Linked DNA regions of Homo sapiens: region 2 is linked to region 1. Evidence: promoter capture Hi-C in 16 types of primary human blood cells and fetal thymus (Javierre and others, 2016). All regions are on one chromosome and are shown on one strand. The core of a region is centred on a gene start or on the middle of the fragment in contact, and the rest is flanking DNA. Distances in the headings are between cores, read along the strand shown. Region 1 holds the start of C5orf34 (chromosome 5 open reading frame 34). Region 2 holds the start of LOC105374745 (a long non-coding RNA gene).

Region 1 (7,503 bases), core at 3,048-5,547:
TTCCGTTCCAGACTACAATAAAGCAAATATTGCAATAAAGTAAGTTGGGAATTCTTTGGTTTCCCAGTACATATAAAAGTTATGTTTATACTATACTGAGGCCTATTAAGTGTGCGAAAGCATATTCTTTAAATATACATACCTTAATTTAAAAATTCTTTATTGCTAGAAAATACAAATGATCATATGAGTCTTCAGTGAATCGTAATCTTTTTGCTGGTGGAGGGTCTTGCCCCAGTGTTGATAGCTGTTGACTGATTCGGGTGGTGGTTGCCGAAGGCTGGGACAGCTGTGGCAATTTCTTAAAATAAGCCAACAATGAGGTTTGCCTCTTCCTTTCAAGAAAGATTTATCCAGTTTGCAATGCTGTGTGATAGCATTTTAACCACAATAGAACTTCTTTAAAAATTTGAGTCAATCATCTTAAACCCTGCTGCTGTTTTATCAACAAAGTTTATGTAATATTCAAAATCCTTTATTGTCATTTCAACAATACTCAGCATCTTCACTAGGAGTAGTTTCCATTTCAAGAAATCACTTTCTTTGCTAATCCATAAGAAGCAACGCAGGCCAGGCGCCGTGGCTCACGCCTGTAATCCCAGCACTTTGGGAGGCCGAGGCAGGCGGGTCACAAGGTCAGGAGTTCAAGACCAGCCTGGACAGCATGGTGAAACCCTGTCTCTACCAAAAATACAAAAAATTAGCCGGGCATGGTGGCGCATGCCTGTAGTCCCAGCTACTCGGGAGGCTGAGGCAGAAGAATTGCTTGAACCCAGCAAGCGGAGGTTGCACTGAGCCAAGATTGTGCCACTGCACTCCAGCCTGGGTGACAGAGCAAGACTCCATCTCAAAAAAAAAAGAAGCAACTCATCCATTCAAGGTTTATCAGGAGATTGCAGCAATTCAGTCACATCTTCAGGCTCCCCTTCTCATTCAGTTCTCTTGCTGTTTCCATCACATCTGCAGTCACTTCTTTCACTAAAGACATGAAGCCCTCAAACTCAACCATGAGGATTGGAATAAACTTCTTCCAAACTTCTCTTAATTGGATATTTTGACCTCCTCCCATGAAGCACAAATGTTCTCAATGGCATCTAGAATGGTGAATCTTTTCCCAAAGGTTTTCAATTGATTTTGCCCAGATCCATTAGAGACATCACTCTGTATGTCAGCTATAGCCTCAAGAAATGTATTGTTTAAATAATAAGACCTGAAAATCAAAATTACTTCTTGACTCTTAGGCTGTAGAATGGATGCTGCGTTAGCAGACATGAAAACAACATTAATCTCCTTGTACGTCATCAGAGCTCTTAGGTGACCAGGTGCATTGTCAATAAGTAGCAATATTTTAAAAGAAATCTATTTTTCTGAATGTCATTTTCAACAGTGGGCTTAAAATATTCAGTAAATCATACTCTAAACAGATGTGCTGTCATCCAGGCTCTGTTGTTTCTGGAGTGCAGGCAGAGTAGATTTAACATAATTCTTAAGGGCCCTAGGATTTTGAAATGAGAAATGAGCATTGGTTTCAACTTCAAGTCACCAGCTGCATTAGACCTTCACAAGACAATCAGCCTGTCCTTTGAAGCTTTGAAACCAGGCATTAATTTCTCTCTGGCTATGAAAGTCCTGGATGACATCTTCCACTAGAAGGCTGTTGCATCTACATTAAAAATCCGCTGTTTAATTTGGCCACCTTCATCAATGGTCTTCGTTAGATCTTCTGGATAACTTGCTGCAGCTTCTACATCAGCACTTGTGGCTTCACCTTGCCCTTTTATGTTACAGAGATGGCTTCTTTCCTTAAATTTCATGAACCAACTACTGATAGCTTTAAACTTTTCTTCAACTCCCTCACCTTTCTCAGCCTTCATAGAATCGAAGAGAGTTAGGGCTTTGTTCTGGATTAGGCTTTGGTTTAAGGGAATGTTGTAGCTGGTTTGATCTTCTATCCAGACCATTCAAACTTCCTCCCTGTCAGTAATAAGGCTGTTTTGGTTTTTCTTATTATTCATGTGTTCACTGGAGTAGTACTTTTAATTTCCTTTAAGAATTTTTTCTTTGTATTCACAACTTGGCTGTTTGACACAAGAGGCTTAGCTTTCAGCCTATCTTAGCTTTCAACATGCCTTCCTTACAGGCTTAATCATGCATTTCTAGGTTATGATTTAAAGTGAGAGACATACAACCCTCTTTTACTTGGACACTTAGAAGCCACTGTAGGGGTATTACTTTGCCTAATTTTGATATTGTTGTGTCTCAAGGAATAGGAAGGCTCTAGGAGAGGGTGAGAGATGAGAGTGGCCAGTGAATACAGCAGCCAGACACACACAATATATATCAATCGACTTGTTACTAGTGGAAGAGATCTGAGTTACCCCAAGTTACCAGCAGCCTATCCTTGCAGGTCCATAGCAACTTCAGTCCTGGCCTCCTCAGAGAAGAAAGAATTTGACTGACAGACATAAAGCAGAAAAGAGACTGAAGCAAGTTCCAGAGTAGGAATGGAGGTTTATTTAAACAGGCATTAGAACAGGAAAGAAAGGAAGGTACGCATGGAAGAGACCCAAGTGGGCATGTGAAGGTTAAAGAGAGAAGGCCAGCCGGGTGCAGTGGCTCACGCCTATAATCCCAGAACTTTGGGAGGCTGAAGCAGGTGGATCATGAGGTCAGGAGTTCAAGACCAGCCTGGCCAAGATGGTGAAACCCTGTCTCTACTAAAAATACAAAAAAATTAGCCGGGTATGGTGGTGGGCGCCTGTAATCCCAGCTACTCGGGGAGGGGGCTGAGGCAGAGAATTGCTTGAACCCGGGAGGCGGAGATTGCAGTGAGCTGAAATCGCGCCACTGCACTGCAGCCTGGGCGACAGAGTGAGACTCCGTCTCAAAAAAAAAAGAAAAAGAAAAGGAGAGAGAGAGAGAGAAGGTCAAGTGCCGCATTTAACCATGATCTTAGGATGGGCTCCCTGCATGCTCAGAGCCCTCTTTACCCTTGGGAAGTGAGCACACACAGTGATTTTATGGATTTATACACATGCCCATCTGAGGCTTTCTTCCTTTTTCCGGTGGAGTGTATCAGAAAAATCATACTTCATCACTTTTGTCTCTTAACCGGCATGCCCAGGAAGTTGCTTCTCTCTGGGGCCTGCATTCAATTAACATTTTGATGTTAACAGGTGTGGGCCATCAGGAAATGGCCTTTCCCTGGCGCTGCCAAATTTTCATTTTTAGAGAGGCCATGTGATAATTGCTGAACCATCACCCAACATTTCTAGTGGGTGGGTGGCAGGGGAGAGCCCTCTCCTGCCTTGCTCATGCCTAACTACCTGTAACAGATTCAGTTCGCCATTTTATAATGTATGAGCATGATCTGTGGTCCCCCAAAACAATTACAGTAGTGACATCAAAGATCAGTGATCACACAGATCACTCTAACAGATACAAAAATAATGAAAAAGTTTGAAATATTGTGGGAATTACCAAAATATGTCAGAGACACAAAGTGAGCACATGATGTTGGAAAAACATGGCACCCATACACTTGCTCCATCAAGGTTGCCTCAAACCTTCCATTTGTAGTAAACTCAGTATCTGCAAAGCACAATAAAATGCACAATAAAACAAGGTATGCCTCTCTATGCTCTCACAAACCTCTGTATTTTATCTTAGAAACACTCACAACTGTAATAAATGATTGTTTATTCTTTCTTTCCAGTTAATCTCTAGCTCTGATCCTCACCCGCAAAGAACTGGGCCACCTTCCCTGCTTTATCCCCACTATGCCTAAACACACAGTGAGTGTTCCATAAACACTTGTTTAGTGGCAATAAATATAGCAGACACATTTATTTGCCACTTTATAAGGAAAAAAGGTGCAGATACATAGACGACCTATTTTCTGATACCAAATTAGGAAGAGTTCTCCATCTTTGGCCAAGTTTTTTTTTTTCTAAACAGCTTTACTGAAGTATAATCGTTTTTTACCTTATTTAAAAATAAGTACCACTCCACTAAAACGCGCTCTGTGGTTAGTTCTCGGCTGGACCGTTCAAAAGGCTGATCCTTACAGCCTTTATTATTAATACAACCAGGTCGGGACTGCTTTTGCGTGGGTCACCAGAAGTAAAAAATCAAAGAGGAGCCAACCCCATTCCGAACAAGGAAACACCCGTCCCCTTCCTACACCAATTCCTGCTCCGCCCTTCGTAGGGAACGCAGCGAGGGCAGCCTCCGGAGTGGAGGGGCGGGACTTCCGGCCCTTCCTGTTGTGGAGGGGCGGGACTTCCTGTCTTCCCTGTTGCGGAGCTCTGAAGCGGCTCCCTGAGGGCGCTGGTTTTGAACTGGTCTTGTGCGGTTTGCGCTTTCTCTTAGTGGTTACAGTTGGCGCTGTCTCCGCTTTCCTGTTTCGTGGCGGGCATCTTGGCCAAAACACTCTCCCTGCCACCTTATTCCTCTAGGGTTGTGATTTTTTTCTTTCACCAAGAAATATCACTCGCTGGTAATTTGTCAAACTGAAGAAACCCCTGAAGAAGCAGTGGTGGGCAGGCGCCGACGCTGCGGCTTCCAGAGCATTTTGGCAAATCAAAGCCAGGGACCGTTGCTGGGCCTCATTTCCGCAACTTTTCGGCTCCGAACTGCTGTGAGTGGAAGACTTTTGGTGGTTGTTTTGATCAGGCTCCTTCTGTAACTAGAGACTATAGCATTTTGAAAGAAATGAGATTCTCATTCATGTCAAGAACAGACTTGTGGATTTTTGAGTGTTAAACATACCCTGACGTAATGTGCTGGGTGATGAGAACGCAAGCGGGAATGAGACTGTAGAGATGAGAATGGCAGTGTGGGTTGGAGCCGGGTTATGGTTTCCTATGGTATGCCAAGAACCTTAGTCATTACACTGTTTGTTGTGTATGCTTGATTATTTAAAATTAGAAAACCGCCTCAGTAAAGCTATTAAAAAAAAGACCTGACCAAAGATAGACTATTTTTCCCAAATTGGAATCAGAAAATGTCTTCCATCTATGTATCAGCACCCGTTTTTTCCCCTAAAATACCAAGTAGACATACCCGATATATACGTGTGTGTTTATATATATATCTGTAATCTATATTGCCATTTGATAAGTACGTAAACAGGTGATGTAAAGCACTTGGTATGGTGTGACTTGTGGAAAGTTACCTATGTCATCAATACTAGAGATGGATTGGAGAGAGAAGAAATTCCAGACAGTTGCAGGAGTTGGAGAGTCTATGGCCTGAAAAAGAGAAAGAGGTAGAGAGAGTCAGGTTCCAAAGACAGAAAATCAACAGGACTTGTTACAGGGGCATGGAGTGGAAAGTCAAGTTTTAGAATATTGGCTGCTAACAATGAGACACCATTAATTCAAATTGCAAATTCAAGAGGAGCAGTTTACTTATTTTTCATCATTCAAATATTTATTGTGCCATTTACTATTTGCCTAATACTGTTTTAGATGCCAGAGATACTGTTACATATAAGACAGATAAGGCCCCTGCTTCGGTTGACTTTATATCCTAGTGGGAGAAAATAAAAAGCAAGTAAATAATCAATTTTGATGATAGATTCTATGAAGAAAAAACTTGAAGAGGGATGACAAATGATTGGGAGATGTTTGGGAGTAACTTTAACTTAGTTGGTCGTTGGGCCCTTGTAGGAGTTACATTTGTGCTGAAACCTTGATGATGATAAAGAACCAGCCTTGTGATTAGCCAAGGAAAAGACAAGGCAGGCAGAAAGAACTGCAAAGATGGGAAAGAGCTTGTTTAAAGAACATTTAAAATGCCAATGTATCTAAAGTGCCCTGTAGAAGTAGGAGAGAGTTGAGAAATGACATTGGGAGAGGTAGATAGGACCAGACTGTGTGGCCTTTGTAGGCCATAGTTTAGGAGTTTGGATTTTAAGTAGAAATGGAAGGTACTGGTGGGTTTTAAGCCACGAAGTGATAGATGTGATTTTCATTTTAAAAGATCCCTCTGGGCACTACTGTATGCAGACTGGATTTGAGGGAAGAGATGAGAGTGAAAGTGCAATTAGGGGGTATTACAGAAGCCTGCTTTTGGTAGGAGTGATTAAGTTCCATTTTAGTTATGTTGAGTTTGATTTATCTATGGGACAGGGACATAGAGAGCGGTCTAGCAGGCAGCCACCTGAAAGCTCTGTGAGAGGTCAGGTACATTTAGTTCTCTAGAGAAAGAAAATAATTAAAAGTGTGTGAATCTCCTCAGGAGAGACCATGTGGTTAAATATTTACTTATATCCTGACATATCCTCAGAAGATTACAGATGATATCACCTACAGCTGATTACATACATTAAAGGGGGTAAGGTTAAAAAAAGACAAGGTGGGCCAGGTGCGGTGGCTCACGCCTGTAATCCCAGCACTTTGGGAGGCCAAAACGGGTGGATCACGAGGTGTGGAGTTCCAGACCATTCTGGCCAACATGGTGAAAACCTGTCTCTACTAAAAATACAAAAAATGAGCCAGGCGTGGTGGCACGCACCTGTAGTCCCAGCTACTCAGGAGGCTGAGGCAGGAGAATCACTTGAACCCGGGAGGCAGAGGTTGCAGTGAGCCCAGATTGCGCCACTCTACTCCAGCCTGGCAACAGAGCAAGACTCTGTCTCAAAAAAAAAAAAAAAAAAAAAAAAAAAAAAAAAAAAAAAAAGACAAGGTGGGGCATAAAAGTGACATCAGTGTTATGTTAAGAAGGGATGAAATGTGGACTAAGGTCAGGTCTTGAAGAATCCTTGATTTAAGGGAATGGTGAAGAAGAATGATTAAACTAAAAACAGGTAGAAGTGAAGAAGAAAACTGTGGCAGCCCAATGTTAGGGGAGAAAAGTAGGGGAAAAGAGAGTTTGGTGCAAGGGAATGTAGACAATGCTGTTACACGTTGATGAGGTTTAGTAGGATGAAGACTAAAGTCATTGGGTATAAGAAGACATTGGCGACCATTGCGAAACAATGTCAGTAAAGAGATAGAGGTGAAAGCTGGATTGCAGTGAATTGAAGACTGATAGGAGAGAAGGTTGGTAGTGAGTGAATACTACACTTGAGCTGTTTATAGGTAGGAAATAGGGATAAAGTGAAAGTGTTTTCTATAGAACGTTATTTTTTTCTGGCAGGTAAAACTTGATCATCTTGGTAGTAGAAGGGGATAATGTGGAAGGGGATGGGGTTAGTGTTGGAAAGGAATAAAAACATTTCATAAGATTGCTTGAGTGCCTGCAAGGCAGCATCCACAGTGCTGGTCACTGTCATATTTGTTTTCTCTTTTAATACACACAACAATCCTGTTACTACTCCCATTTTACAAATGAGGAACAACCTGAGACTTATAGCTAGCTAGTAAATGGTAAGGTGTGAATGAAACCCAACTCTTTTTTTTTTTTTTTTTTTTAGTTGATCATTCTTGGGTGTTTCTCACAGAGGGGGATTTGGCAGGGTCATAGGACAATAGTGGAGGGAAGGTCAGCAGATAAACA
Region 2 (7,503 bases), core at 3,683-6,182, 560 kb after region 1:
TACTAAAAATACAAAAAAATTGCTGAGCATTGTGGCTGGTGCCTGTAATCCCCGCTACTTGGGAGGCTGAGGCTGTAGCGGGAAGTCAGGGACCCCAAAAGGAGGGACCGGCCGAAGCCATGGCAGAAGAACGTGGATTGTGAAGATTTCATGGACGTTTATTAGTTCCCCAAATTAATACTTTTATAATTTCTTATGCCTATCTTTACTGCAATCTCTAAACATAAATTGTGAAGATTTCAAGGACACTTATCTCTTCTCCAATCAATGCCCTTGTGATTTCCTATGCCTGTCTTTACTTTAATCTCTTAATCCTGTCATCTCGTAAGCCGAGGAGAATGTATGTCGCCTCAGGACCCTGTGATAATTGCATTAACTCCACAAATTGTAGAGCATGTGTGTTTAAACAGTATGAAATCTGGGCACCTTGAAAAAAGAACAGTATAACAGCAATGTTTAGGAAACAAGAGAGATAACCTTAAACTCTGACCGCTGGGAAAAAGCCAGGCGGAACAGAGCCATATTTCTCTTCTTTCAAAAGCAAATGGAAGAAATATTGCTGAATTCTTTTTCTCAGCAAGGAACATCCCTGGGAAAGAGAATACGCACCTGAGGGTGGGTCTATAGATGCCCCCCTTGGGTGTGGCCGTCTTCTATGGTCGAGACTGTAGGGATGAAATAAACCCCAGTCTCCCATAGTGCTCCCAGGCTTATCAGGAAGGGGAAATTCCCGCCTAATAAATTTTGGTCAGACCAGTTGCTCTCAAAACCCTGTCTCCTGATAAGATGTTATCAATGACAATGGTGCCCAAAACTTCATTAGCAATTTGAATTTCACCCCGGTCCTGTGGTCCTGTGATCTCGCCCTGCCTCCATTTGCCTTGTGATATTCTATTACCTTGTGAAGTATGTGATCTTTGTGACCCACACCCTATTCGTACACTCCCTCCCCTTTCGAAAGTCCCTAATAAAAACTTGCTGGTTTTACAGCTTGTGGGGCATCACAGAACCTACTGACATGTGAGGTCTCCCCTAGACACCCAGCTTTAGAATTTCTCTCTTTTGTACTCTGTCCCTTTATTTCTCAAACCGGCCGATGCTTAGGGAAAATAGAAAAGAACCTATGTGACTATTGGGGCAGGTTCCCAGATATGAGGCCTCAGAATAGCTTGAACCCGGGAGGCAGAGGCTGCAGTGAGCTGAGATCACACCACTGCACTCCAGCCTGGGCAACAGAGCCAGACTCTGTCTCTAAATAAATAAATAAATAAATATTAAAAAATTACAACTCCAATCTCCATGCTATTTCTAAGAGGTAAATAAACTAAAATGGCACTTAAGGTTTAAAATAAAGCAGTGGATATCTGAATTTAATCAATTCTAGAGTAAATTTTTTCTCACTTTAGTGTCTCTGAAACAGGTATATATTTTTAAATGGGTAGCCTCCTACCATTATGATACTTTAATTTGCAGCATTTTCTCCTGTTAATGGTATACTAATAATGTCTCAGGTGACCCCTTCTTAAAGAGTTCCTAATCTCGGCTGTATTTTTATTTCATTTTATTTTTTGAGACAAAGTCTCAGTCTGTCACCCAGGCTGGAGTGCAGTGGTGCCGTGAAGGATCATCGTTCACTGCAGCCTGGACCTCCTGGGCTCAAGAGATCCTCCCACGTCAGCCTCCTTGGTAGCTGGGACTACAGGCACCCGCGACTGCATCCCGCTAATTTTTTAAATTTTTTGTAGTGGCACGGTCTTGCTATGTGCTTCGGATGGTCCTGAACGCGTGGGTTAAAGTGATCCTCCCGCCTGGGCCTCCCAAAGTGCTGGGATTACAGGAGTGAACTCTGGCTCCCGCTCAGCTTTGTCACTAAAATGCTCTGCTGGGTGGAAATGAGGAGTGCGAAGCAGTGGGTGGGGCTTTTCTTTTACAAAGGCTCCGCCTGGGCTGTTCCTTCTGGTGAAGTGCTTGTAACTTTTTAGGTGGAAATGATGCCATTTTTCCTTTGTTCTCCCGTTCCTAAGACCAGGGATGAGCGTTCCCGCATCATCTCCCAACCTCACCCTGATGATACCATGCAACAAACTCCATCCTTTTCTGGTTGAACCTGGGCAGAGGACAGGTCCAGAGGAGCCTAGAAAAGGGCCTTCACAGGTCAGGAGATCCAATATGAAGTCGCAATTCTCACCCACTCCCAAGGCATTTGCCTTGATCTTCCCCTCCCACCATACTATGTCTGCTAGCTAGTTTCTCCCTGGTATTTGAGGATCCTCCAATTGCCTCGTGGTCTTAGGATCATCGTTAACTGCATCCTGGACCTCCTGGGCTCAAGAGATCCTCCCACCTCAGCCTCCCTGGTACCTGGGACTACAGGCACCCGCGACCGCATCCGGCTAATTTTTAAATTTTTTGTAGTGACAGGAACGCTCCCGGTAGGGTCTGTAGGTCTCTTGTGAGGATTTCATGCGGATGTGTAGATTTTTCGGGAAATGTGAAAGCTTAGGGAAAAGGGACGTTTTTCTTCCGGGCAGAGGCAGTTCCATATTTCCTATGGGGAAGGAGTTTTTAGCTCCACTCTGACTGAAAAGTAGGAAAAAGAGGGAATTCAAGCGCTTGAAAATTCGCCTGCTTTGCATTTCCCGAAAGACAGAAAACGTCAGTGATCCATTTCACAGATCAAGGGTACAGAAAAGTGTAGAGCAGTTTGAGATGTTTATTGGGCTTGGAGAGGTAGCGGACTTTTGCCATCATTCCCACCTTCTGAGCTGGAGTCTTGCCGTCCATTTTTCTCTCCTGCTCTCTTTCATCTACTATCCCCAAATATCAAGGATATCAGACAGTTAATCATCAGAATAAAGGAGCGGTTCCCACAGAGTTACATCCCGCAGAAGAGGTACGGGACCGAGAGAGTGGGGGGTCAGGCCTGAAGTCGAGGTCAAAAAACGCTGTGCCTTTCATTATCCTCGGAAACCTAGGCCGACTTTCCAGTTTGGAAGGGAAGAGTTGTCCGCCCCTTCTGTAGGATCCTGAGAGCTCTGGACGGGGAGGAGACTCTGGGACCGAGGGGTGGCCTGGGAGAGCCCCGCCACGGAGGTTGGAAGGGTGTTTCCTGCGTAGGCAGCTGTTGGCAATCAGAATGGTTTTTACTTTGTTCCTGCAACCAGCCCCATCCGCTTGGTTCTGGGCCCCTAAACTGCCTCCTCTTCTCATGCACTATGCACTGGGTTGAACGCAGCAACAATACAGACTTCCCTCCCAGCACGGTGGCTCATGCCTGTGATTCTAGCGCTTTGTGATATTAGTCCGCCCAGGCGGACGGACTGCTTGAGCTCAGGAGTTCGAGAACAGCCTAGGCAACAAAACGAGACCCTACAAAAACTACAAAAAATTAGTCGGGTGTGGTGTCGCGCACCTGTGGTCCCAGCTGCTCCACAGGCTGAGGCGGGAGGATAGCTGGAGCCCAAGAAGGCGAGGCTGCACTGAGCAGTGATCACGCCACTGCACCAGCCTGGGCAACAGAGCAAGATACTGTTAAAAAAAAAAATAAAGAAAAAAGAAATAAAGAGAAAAAGAAAAAAAGGAAAGAGAGAAAGAAAGGAAAGAAGAAAGAAAAAGAAAAAGAAAGAATGAAAGAAAGAAAAAGAAAGAAAGAAATAAAAGAAAGAAAAGAAAGAAGCAGAAATAAAAATATAACAGACTTCCCTAAGCCCGAAAAACAGCCTTGGGAATCGAGAGTGGGTAGAGGCCACAGCACTTTGGTAGCACGGAGCGCACCATGGGTCCATCGCTGCACGGCTCCTTTCCCGGCGCCAGCGGTTTCTTTCTTTTTTTTGAGACGGAGCTCACTCTGTCTCCCAGGCTGGAGTGCAGTGGCGCGATCTTGGCTCACTGCAACCTCTGCCTCCTGAGTTCAATCGATTCTTCTGCCTCAGCCTCCGGAGTAGCTGGGATTACAGGTGCCTGCCACCACAACCGGCTAATCTTTTGTATTTTAGTAGAGATGGGGTTTCACCTTGTTGGCCAGGCTAGTCTCCTGATCTCAAGTAATGCGCCCACCTCGGCCTCCCAAACTGCAAGGATCATAGGCGTGAGCCGCCGCGGTCGGCCGTGGCGCCGGCGGTTTCTCATTGCCATTGCTACTCCTTTGTCAGCGACAGCGGATGCTCTCTGGCCGCAACATTCTTTGCGCCAAAAGTTGTTTTTTTTGCAGCAGCGCAGGCATTTGCTGCGGGCAAGTGCTCGCCGGGTCCCATTGCCGCTGGTTCCCTTCCACACAACTTGTGAGTGTCCCCCCCACTCCCACAATCTAATCGGTTTAGGGAGCCAGAGGTTTCCCCGCGGCACTCTGCCTGTGGCGTCCGGCGAAGCCGGGGAATCCGCTGGAGGCAAGGCTGGTTTCACTGAGTCCGGCGTTTCTCCGTACCCGTACTGCTCTGCGCTCTGTGCTGGCCCAGGCGGGTCTCAGCACCGCTAGGTGCTGGGTAAAGGCATTGTCTGTTGTGGGTAGGATAGCCGTTAAGGGAGGACTAAAAGTTTCTAGCAGAGCCCAACTGGCGGTTTCTTGATCATATGAACACTAGCTCCGCGGAGCTGGATGTACTTCAGTGGCAGTGCATGTTTCTCTGTGGCATCCCCACAGCTGCCGTCCAAACTGCAGTGTTTCGCTGGCACCACTGCCACGTGGGTCACTTTCTTCAGTGGCTGCGCGGTTCCCTGCATCGAAGTCGCTTGTTTCTGATCCGCGCTTTCTCCCGGATGGCCGACCAGACGGTTTTCTGCTAGTTGTGCTACACATAGTTTCCTGGTCTCCGTGCGCCGCTTTCTCCATCCGAGACCCTCTAGTGCCGGTGTCACGGTCGCAGCACCTGGGGTTTCCATTGGCTGTTTTGCCTGTGGCGCGGAGTAGGCGGTTTTTCTGCCACAGCACTTGTCGTACGGAGTTTCTCGGTGGCCGAACCTCTCTTTTTTCTCAGAGTCGATGGTTTCTTGGTGACGGCGCCATTGGCTGCGTCAAAACGAATGTTGTCCTTGACAACCCCGCCGGCTGGCGTCACTCGCAGGCTCCCGGCACCACCATTTCGCCAGCCGAGGTCTCTCGGTCGCGGCACCGCTCGTTGGTCTGCGCCTCCATTTTCTCAGTGGCCGCAGCACCCAGGTTGCAGATGTGAGGGATTCGGTGTCGCAGCTGCCCCAGTTGCGCCCAGTTGCGCCTGGAGTTACCGGGCGGCGGCGGCGCTGGGCTGGGGGAGCCAGCCGCTCCTCGGGGCCGGTGGCAGGGGAGCTGCCGGGGCGCCTTCTCTTCCCAGCGCCGCCGCACGGACTGCGGCTCGGCCTCCAGAACCCAGTCCGGTGGCTGCGCTGCTGGGGTTTCTGTGACAGGACCCCACGGTTTCGGGCGTCGTTGGCTTCTTGGTCCTAGGAAGTTTCTATTTCGCGGTGCCTGCGATTTCTACCCCTTGTTCAAGTCGTGGAATAGTCACAATGTGATTTCTCAGCCCAATCAAGTTCCGACTTAGGACAAACACCGGTCTGGCCCTGGCTGCGATTTCTAGGTAGTAGGAAGTTACTGTTTCATCGTAACGAGGCTGAGTCACCCTGTGACTCACATCTCAGCAATTCCGGGTTTCCTGTAGCCTCGGAATTCTAATCCTAACAACCCCGGGTTAGCCCTGCCTCAAGTTCCTTAGTCATTGCAAGTTTCTTACTAGTAAGCTCTGCTTTAGCTGCTCAGGAGACGTTTAACTCCTGTAGAAATCTGGGTACCAGCGAATGCGGTTTTTTTTTTTTTTTTTGCTTAGCGATGACCAGTTTAGCAGGGCCTGGGAGCTCTTATACTAAGTTTGGTTTCACAATAGCGGGTCCCGCCTTAGCTAGGCCTGTGTTTTTTAAACTCCCCTGGAAGTCAGGAAATGCAGGCAAACGGGATTTTTCAGTTTTGCCAAGCCCCAGTTGACAATAGCAAGTCCCGCCGAAAGCGACTTTTTTTCCTACCATTTTATAGTCTAAGCTAAACAGGTTTAACCATGACTGTTATTTATTTATTTATTTAATTTGGTAGGAAATTTAGACTTAGGTGTAACATGTACTGGTTTAGATCGGATAGGGATATCCTAATCGTAGGATTGCATTACAAACATTTGTAATTTCTTCTTTGTAGGAATGGTTGTCAGCAATTTTTGCTTATTTTTTAATTGTCTTTTTGTGTCTTGCTCTGAGAACGACATTACCGATGTGCTTGCCTTTCATTTCTACTTGCATTTTAGGCTTCTATTATTTTTAAATTGTATTTCTATTTAAATGTTATGTATTTTTTTCTACTGATTTTAAATGTCTCAGCTTCGTGCTCCTTGACTTGCATGCTCAGGACGCGGGGAGCCGATCTCGGTCTCAGACTTGCTGCTGCCAGGTCCCGGGTTCTGTCTGGCGACTCCGCTTCTTATGCGGAGCTGTCGGTTTTGCGTCAGCACTTTTGCCAGTAGCGCCCACTGGGCGTTTTCTCAATTGGTGCACAATTCTTAGCGCCCAACAGGACGTTTCATGTTTTCGGGGCCCGTAAATTCTCTGTGCTGTCTCTTTCTGGGTCCTAGAAACGCTAATATCTCGTAGGAACTTCCTGAACCCCTTTTTACGGTGCAGACCGGTGACTGCACCCAGCCTCTGTGCTCTCTAGTAATTCCATAGCACCGTTAGCTGCGGCTTTTTCTCTCACAGCACATTACAACGGGTTAAAACACATTAAACGACTTAAAACACAATAAGATGCCACAACACATTTTTCTGTCACAACACATTTAAACACAGTCAGTTCATTTCTCCAGACAGGACTCCTATCTAAGAGCCCGCAGTTTCTTTCTAGCAGCACCATTTATGGCACCTAAATGGACATTTGTTTGGCAACACCAGGGCAATCCGCTGGGTGTCTGCTCTTGCTGAGTCCCAGCGCAGCCAGATTATTGTTAGCGAGGTCCTTAGTAGTGCCGAGCCCTAGCGGACAGTTTCCTGGTGGCAGCAATGCTCATTTCCCGGACACAGGTGGTTCTTGGCCTCTGAAGCTCTCTTTAATCCCTGCGTTCTGTAGGGCTACTTCTCTATACGGTCTGCTTAGTGTCAGTTTCATTTCGTTTTCTTTTCTCGCTGTTTTTCCGTCGGAATTACGGTTTGTTTTGGTTCTATGTACTTTCTAAAATTTTATCGTTTTTCATTTGTGTACTAATTTTAGTGCATTTATTACTATTGAGTTTCATATTTGGCTTGCCTCCGCCCACGAGCTCCGGAGACATAAATACCCAGGCTGATGCTGAAGTGTATTATAGTAAGGTTAAATTTCCTGCAATTGATAACTGTACTGTGCTACTGTGTAAGCTTATGTAAGACAATATCCCTGTTCTTAGGAAATGCACACTAAATATTAAAGTTTACTGGCCATAAGTTGTACAGTGTTTTTACAATTAAAAAAAATTTTTGCTCTGTCGCCCAGGCGGGTGCAGTGGTGTGATCTCGGCT

Evidence for each region. The method cuts DNA at HindIII sites, captures the fragments that hold promoters and counts their contacts. A CHiCAGO score of 5 or more calls a contact.
Region 2: a fragment that was not itself captured here is called in contact with the fragment with the promoter of C5orf34 in region 1 in 1 of 17 cell types (fetal thymus); the score reaches 5.7 in fetal thymus.

The regions. Positions count from the first base shown.
Region 1 is chr5:43,511,942-43,519,444 of GRCh38, reverse strand. C5orf34 (chromosome 5 open reading frame 34) reads left to right here and starts at 4,297. Exons shown (of 13, transcript NM_198566.4): 1 at 4,297-4,639. LOC124900190 (a long non-coding RNA gene) reads right to left here. Exons shown (of 3, transcript XR_007058764.1): 2 at 143-5,252; 3 at 1-12. RefSeq lists an enhancer at 4,530-4,689. The HindIII fragment of the contact is 8,167 bases long and covers 1,591-7,503 here.
Region 2 is chr5:42,948,917-42,956,419 of GRCh38, reverse strand. LOC105374745 (a long non-coding RNA gene) reads right to left here and starts at 5,531. Exons shown (of 3, transcript XR_925964.3): 1 at 1-5,531. RefSeq lists enhancers at 4,568-4,837, 4,617-5,138, 5,517-5,661, 5,139-5,661, 5,638-5,697 and 2 more, a silencer at 5,248-5,347 and a cis regulatory region at 5,584-5,594. The HindIII fragment of the contact is 4,864 bases long and covers 2,501-7,364 here.